Regions from separate parts of the Homo sapiens genome. Here region 1 is linked to region 2. Evidence: promoter capture Hi-C in human tissues and cell types (Jung and others, 2019). All regions are on one chromosome and are shown on one strand. Each heading gives the region's core, a stretch centred on a gene start or on the middle of the fragment in contact. The rest is flanking DNA. Distances are from core to core; before and after follow the strand shown. Region 1 overlaps ZKSCAN2 (zinc finger with KRAB and SCAN domains 2). Region 2 holds the start of RBBP6 (RB binding protein 6, ubiquitin ligase).

What was found. The method cuts DNA at HindIII sites, captures the fragments that hold promoters and counts their contacts. A contact is called where the count stands out against the background at its distance.
Region 1: a contact is called between a fragment that was not itself captured here and the fragment with the promoter of RBBP6 in region 2, in 1 of the 25 tissues and cell types used here (IMR-90 fibroblasts).

Annotation. Positions count from the first base shown.
Region 1 is chr16:25,245,473-25,249,080 of GRCh38, forward strand. ZKSCAN2 (zinc finger with KRAB and SCAN domains 2) reads right to left here. Exons shown (of 7, transcript NM_001012981.5): 5 at 1,235-1,918. Among named protein-coding and RNA genes, the nearest start is that of ZKSCAN2-DT, 10 kb to the right of the region's middle. The HindIII fragment of the contact is 4,882 bases long and covers 1-3,608 here.
Region 2 is chr16:24,537,214-24,540,868 of GRCh38, forward strand. It overlaps RBBP6 (RB binding protein 6, ubiquitin ligase), which reads left to right and starts at 2,353. Exons shown (of 18, transcript NM_006910.5): 1 at 2,353-3,579. The coding sequence starts at 3,414. RefSeq lists enhancers at 295-589, 2,016-3,010, 3,011-3,655 and silencers at 2,300-2,349, 2,620-2,799. The HindIII fragment of the contact is 6,685 bases long and covers 1-3,655 here.

The DNA of each region.
Region 1 (3,608 bases), core at 225-2,724, 710 kb after region 2:
AAGAATTTATAGGCTGGGTGCGGTGGCTCATGCCTGTAATCCCAGCACTTTGGGAGGCCGAGGTGGGTGGATCATTTGAGGTTGGGAGTTTGAGACCAGCCTGACCAACATGGTGAAACCCTGTCTCTACTAAAAATATAAAAATTAGCCAGGCGTGGTGGTGGGTGCCTGTAATCCCAGCTACTTAGGAGGCTGAGGCAGGAGAATTGCTTGAACTCACCCAGGAGGAGGAGGTTGCAGTGAGCCGAGATTGCGCCACTGCACTCCAGCCTGGGTGACAGAGTGAGACACCGTCTCGGAAAAAAAAAAAAAAAAGAATTTATCTCTAGCTGGAGTAAAGAAACATTACTAATAACAGTGATACCAGGCAATGCTGTATTATATTTTAGCATTTTCACAGTGCCTTCATTTATATTATCCTATTTAACACTAATAACAACCCTATGAGGTATTCTTAGCCATATTTTACGGATGAGAAAATTGAAGCTCAAAGTAGTTACGTGATGTGTCTACTGTCACACAGTTATTAATTGGCGATTTAATTCTGCATGTCTCAGTCACAAAATATTTAACACCAGCTCTCTTTTGCATGGTGTATCTGTCTGCCTTTTTAATTTTAATGTCTCTGTATTATATTTAAGGTGGATCTCTTATAAGCAATTAATGTCTGATAATCTTAGTTCTTTAAGTTTGTAATTAATTATATATTTGGATTTATATCTTATTTTTTTCCATCTGACTCATCTATTTTGTATTCTTTTTTCTCTCCTTTGTCTTCTTTTAGATTACACAAAAAATGTTTATTTTATTTTTAATGAAAACCTGTTGAAACTGTTACAAAATTTTGTACTGGTTATTTTAGATAACGTAATAATGCATGCTTGACTTATAATGCAATACAATTGATTGCTTTATGCCAATTATCAGATAATACAAGATCCTTAGAACCCTGTAACTCCATTTGTCTTCCTTCCACAAGGACCCAAACACTCAAAATCCATGCTGTGCTCTAAAGTGAAAACGACTTCTCCACGGCCACTTGGAGCTGTTACTCTGACTGCAATGGGGGCAGCAGCAAGCACCTGAGAGTACTTCAGTGATGTGGCCACACCACAGTGAAAGTGGTGAGGTGTGTGTGACAGCACCCCCCGGGTTTGGCCACTTCTGGTCTACTCCTTTTTCCACAAGATCACACATCTGTTTTCCTACCAGAGAAACAAAGCACAATTCTTACCACTGAGATTCTGAAACAAGACAGGGGCACCATGGATTTCAGACTTGCGGATAAATTCGATGCCTATTTCATCATCATCAGAATCTTCTGCAGCTTCCTCCTCCTCCACCAAGCTGATGTGTTCCTTAGCACTGATGGCAATTCTCTTCAGTCTGGGGACAGGTATCATCTCCTTTGGTTTATCAGTGGACGGAGCACGGGCTGCAGGGTTCAACAAAGCATCCATGTCCTCAAAGAAGGCGCAGGGTTCTAGCATGTGGCCATTTCTCACCTTTCGATAGCTTTTCTGGAGACTTTTGAACTTGGTTCGACACTGTTCTGGGGTTCTAAGGAAGCCACATTCTCGCAACCATTCAGCCACAGCACCATACACTTGGCTATTTCGGGGACAGGCCTGAAGTGTTTCATAAAAGCGAGACTCTTTGAGAATTGCCAGGAAAGTCTTTGTTTCCTCATAGCTCCAATGCACACCTGCTATCTTTTCATCTTCTAAACCCCACTGCTGCTGCTCTCTCCATGTTTTTCCTGCACTCCTTGCAGGGACCTGAATAGCATGAACTGACTTTTCCTTGACGTAGTTGCTTCGTAGGATACTTCTCTTGTTAGAGGAATGCAGACCTAGAGTCCATGGCTCCTTTCTCTGTTCCAACCGGGTTATCTTGTTAGATGTAGACACTGCACTTCCTACAGTAAAATAAACATATTTCATGGTAGACATAGAAGTCATTACTGCATGCCTCAATCTTCTGCTGTCACATGCTCTCCTGGGCCACTTGTTCACACCCAAACCTTCCTCAGCTGTGACACTGCACATTTATTTTTACATGACTTCCTTGGTACAAACATCTACTAACTTACACGATCATTTTACTTCTCATATATGTACCATTTCTTTTCCTAGCTAGTTCTTACAGGAAAACCTTTAAGGGTAAGAATATATATTTTTAACCTTTGATTCTCTCTCAGTAGCCAGTGTTGTGTTAGGTTCAGGGTATGCTCCTACTCAGTATTTGTTACTTGTAAAATAAAGTGTATCTTTTCCCCACATTCCCCTCCATGCCCACCCCAACATACATAACATACATACATATATAGGCACTGGGACTATAAGAGAAAAGAAGCCAAGAATTTTTTGTTAAACTATATTACAAAGCCACAGTAATCAAAACAGTATGGTACTGGTATGAAAACAGACACAAAGACCAGTAGAACAGAATAGAGAGCATAGAAGGAAGTCCACACATGTATAGCTAAATAATCTTTGACAGAGTGCCAAGAACACATCACTGGGAAAAGATCATCTTTTCAACAAATGGTGCTCGGAAAACTGGATATCCAGATACAAAAGAGTGAAACTGGACCCCTGTCTTACACGACTCACAAAAATGAACTCAAAATGGATTAAGCCTTAAATATAAGACCTGAAACCATAAATCTCCTAGAAGAAAACACAGGGGACAAAGCTCCTTGACACTGGTCTGGGCAATAATTTTTTTGGATATGACATCAAAGCACAGGCAATGAAAGTAAAAATAAATGAGTGGGACTACATCAAACTACAAAGCTTCTATACAGCAAAAAAAAAAAAAAAAAAAAAAAAATCTAATCCAAAACAACAACAAAAACAGTCAACAAAGTGATGAAAAAATCTATGGAATAGAAAAAAAGATTTGCAAACCACTCATCTGCTAAGGGGTCAATAACTAAAATATACAAGGAACTCCTACAATTCAATAGCAAAATAACAACAAACCAAACAAATAATCTCATTAAAAAATAAGCCAAGGATATGAATGGACATCTTCCCAAAGAAGACATACAAATGGCAGATAGGTACATGAAAAGGTGCTCAACATTGCTAATCATCAGGGAAATGCAAATCAAAGCCACAATGAGGTATCATTTCATACCTTTCAGAATGGCTATCATCAATGAGACAAAAATAAGAAGTGTTGGTGAGAAGAAAATGAAACCTCTGAATACTGTTGGCAGAGCTGTGAATTGGGAAGAGTCATTATGGAAAACAGTACAGAGGTTCCATAGAGAACTAAAAATAGAATTACCATATGATCCAGCAATCCTGCTACTGGGTATATATGCAAAAATATTAAAATCAGTAGGCCAAAGAGGCACTACCATGTTCACTGCAGCATTATTCACATACAGCTAAGATACGGAAGCAACCAGGAGGCTGAATGGATAAAGAAAATGTGGTCTATATACACAAAGGAATATTATTCTGCCTTAAAAAAGAAGAAAATTCTGCCTTTTGCAACAACATGGACGAACATGGAGAACATTATGTTAACTAAGGTAAGCCAGGCACAGAAAAGACATATATCACATGACCTCACTTTTTTGGCAGTATCTAAAA
Region 2 (3,655 bases), core at 1,103-3,602:
ACAGGAATGCTTCATTCACTGTAGGATAGTACAAAAGGCTTTTTCAGGGCTTACAAAAATATTGGTAGGGAGAGAAGCGTCAGGGAGACCAGCTCCATATTACCCAAAGAAAACGGCAAAATTTACAATTCAGCTCACTGAAGAAAAAAGAAAATAAAAAGTTTTTTTTTTAAAAAAAGAAAACTGCAAAATGAAGATTAGTAAAGGAATTCAGTGAAATGGACCAAATGTAGCATTGTGTCAATTAGTCAGGCAACTCAAGTCATAGGCTTATTGCAGGTGGTGAATGCATTTTGACCTGTTTGATGTGATATGAAGTGAGGCCTCTGTAAGTGAGAATATCAAGGTTGAACAAAGTTTTTGGCAGATGAGAACGGTTGGACCAATAGACAACATTCTTTCCAAGGACATCCCCCCCTGCAGATTAGGTTATGATCCACTCTGTCATATCCTGAGGGTGTGGCCCACTTTGAGATCCCATGATGCACCACGCTGATTAAATTAGGCATTCAGTATATAAAGGGGTCGGCCACAGACGGGCAAAAGGAACAGATTCACCGCTTCGGAGTGAATTCCATGACGGCTTGCAATTTTCTCGTCGAGTTTTTCTTTCACTAGAGATAGCCCTCGCCCTTTCATTCACACAGAGGCTTTTAAGAAAAAAGCAACCAACCTGAAGAGGACCTGGCAGCAATAAGTTTTTGGTGAAATAACAAAGAGGTAAAAGTGGAAGAAACTTGTTATATATGAAAAGTACTGATGTGTGTGGTTGAGTTAAATTGTAATGGTATCTCTAGAGCTGCCCTTGACTACGGCCAAAATTTTATTGCCACGACATCTCTATGGATCACGTAAAAATGTATCCAGTTATTCAGCACGTATTTATTGAGCACCTACTATGTTCTAAGAGCTGAGGATACAGCAAAAACAAATATAAAGATAAGATTCCTATTGTCAGCCGAAGGTAGGGGTTGGGGGAGATAGATAATTAAAAAGTAAATGTGTAACTGTCAACTATCTGCAAGTGCTAGGAAGAAAAGACTAAAGGGATAGAGAAAGATCGCCATCTTATTTTAAAAAGATGGCCTTAGGAAGGCTTTTCTGGCAGGATGGTGATTAATTTTAAATCAAGTTCAGTAAGAATTTGGAGTGTGCTTGCAGGAAGTCCCTGGGAAACTCTGCTACTTCTCGGCTATAGGATCTTATTCTCAGTTGCCTAAATTCACTGAGCCTAGCCTGTAAAATTCAGAGAGGATGAGGAACATGGATTGTAAACGATAATAACTATCGTTTATGAATGTAATTTTATTATATTATGATTTTTTCTGAATGTAATAACGTCCCCATGCCCAAAGGAAAAAAAAAATTCCAATCTACTGAGGGGGTTCTTGTCACTGTTCCTGGCATTTGCGCTTAGGAATGGAATCGGGACCCTGCCACTGAGCAGGCATCCCCTTCTGCAAATTCAGAAAGTACATGATTGCTAGCTTCAGTTCCATCATCTATAAATCGGAAATAATGTCATGTTGACCACGTAGGGTTTTTGTTGTTAAATTGACATTTATTGAGCTACAGCTATTAATATTTCGGTGCATTGAGCCACGTCAATGCACCGGCATGGTCTTAGACTATGGATTTATGTGCATTTATTTAATCCAAGTAAACCAAGTACTATTTTTAATGGCATTTTACAGCCAAGGAGACCCAGGCACAGAGGGGTTAAATCTAGAGCCCCCACAGCCAGGGATCCAACCCAGACAACGTGGCTGCTGAGCCTGGCAATGTTGTTATGCGATCAGCCCTGTGCCTAGCACATAGTAAGAGCTCAATAAATCTGTATGGTGCTGGTGGCTGTTATCAGTTCTTGGCAGCGGCTGCTCCACGATTTCCACTTGTCAAGAGTATAGGGTAGCCAGTTTATTGGAAGCAGCAGCTAGGGAGCGCTTGCATAGCAACCATAGTTTTCTGCGTAGCAACCATAATGCTCACTTAAATTGGGAGGCTTAGAGGAGCTGACGGGGCCTGTGGGGAAGGGGGAGTTAGCCGGCCACCCCTAGGCAAGCCACTTTGCAGTGGAAACTGCACGCAGCCCCTGCAAGGCGAGCTCTCCCCACCGAGCCTCCCTGTGAGCCGGTCCTCCTGACGCGCAACCCCCCTCCCTTTTGAAGCAGATGGTTCTTCCCGTTGTCCCTGCTCTTTCAGTTTCCGCGCTTTGGAGTCACAAAGCGCGGGGTCACGTGGGCGGGCCGTGCGCTTTGTGACGTCAGCCGCCCCGCCTCTCGGCCCGCCTATCCGCGCACGCCAGCCCCGCCTCGCGCGCGCCGCCCGTGCAATCCCTGCTTAAGAGACCCCGCAGTGGGGCGCTCGTCCGAAGCCAGGCCGCGTCCGCCATAGTACCTGGCTTGGAGGTGTCGCCGCCGCTCGGTGAGAGCCCCCGAGCGGCAGGGGGCCAACACAAAAAGGGAGCCGGAGAAGCCCTAGCCGCTGCCCAGCAGCTTGCGGGCGTGTTCTCGCGGTTCCGGGCCTCAAGGCGACGGAAACGAAAGGCGAGCGAAGCGCGGAGGATCCGGCGAGAAGAAGCGTCAGGGAGCCTCGGCGGTGTCCCCGGGGTCCGCCGAAGCCACCCGGCCGCCGGCTGGGGCCCGGGGTGGTGAGGAAGTGCTCCGAGGCCTCGCCGAGGCCTAGCGCCGGCTTTGTGTCCGAGGCGGCGGCGGCGGCGGGGGGAGGCGGAGCCGGGGGCGGCCTGCGGGAAGGCCTCTCCTCCGCCGACCGCGCGTTTTCGGCCTAGGCCGTGGGGCCGCTCGTGGCCTCCGGGGAGCAGGCGCCAGGGGTTTGTGTGCGGTGGGGGCCTGGGCCTGGGCCTGGGGAAGCTGACGCCGGTCGTCCGGAAGCCAGGAGGAGGCGTGAGGCCGCTCGTGGACTCCGGGCCTAGGCCCTCTCCCCTCAACCTTCTCCCGGGGCCTGGGTCACCCCAATCCACGGAGAGAGAGACCCGCCGGGAGGTGCGGCCGCGCTATGGACCCCTGACCCCGTGGGGTCGCTCGGACTCTTAACGTGTGGACTGACCGCTACTGACTGCACCGCCAATCCCCCCGTCTCTGCCGGCCCCTTAGCATGAGCGAGGGGGACCCAGCCGGGTGACATTGTGCCCGTTGGCGGATTCTCGATTTCCCCTCTTCCCCGTCCTCGTCCTCCTCCTCCCCCATGAAGTGATTCTGAGTATCGGGGGGTCTCTGGATTATTGTTCTGACGAACCCCTGCTTGTGGTTGGGGGGTATTTAATCTGAGGCCTTAGGGTCCTTCGGTGTCTTTGAGTGTTTTGTGTGTACATATTTTGCTCTTAAAGTTTATAAATATACGTATATTGAGAGTGTCCACGTCTCCTCGCTGAACCTTAGGAATCCCTTGGCACCATGTCCTGTGTGCATTATAAATTTTCCTCTAAACTCAACTATGATACCGTCACCTTTGATGGGCTCCACATCTCCCTCTGCGACTTAAAGAAGCAGATTATGGGGAGAGAGAAGCTGAAAGCTGCCGACTGCGACCTGCAGATCACCAATGCGCAGACGAAAGAAGGTAAGGGCCGCTTGGTCTTAAGATATTTGGTGGCTGGAGAGAGATACTAGCTAGAAGGTGCCTGGCAGGAAGCTAA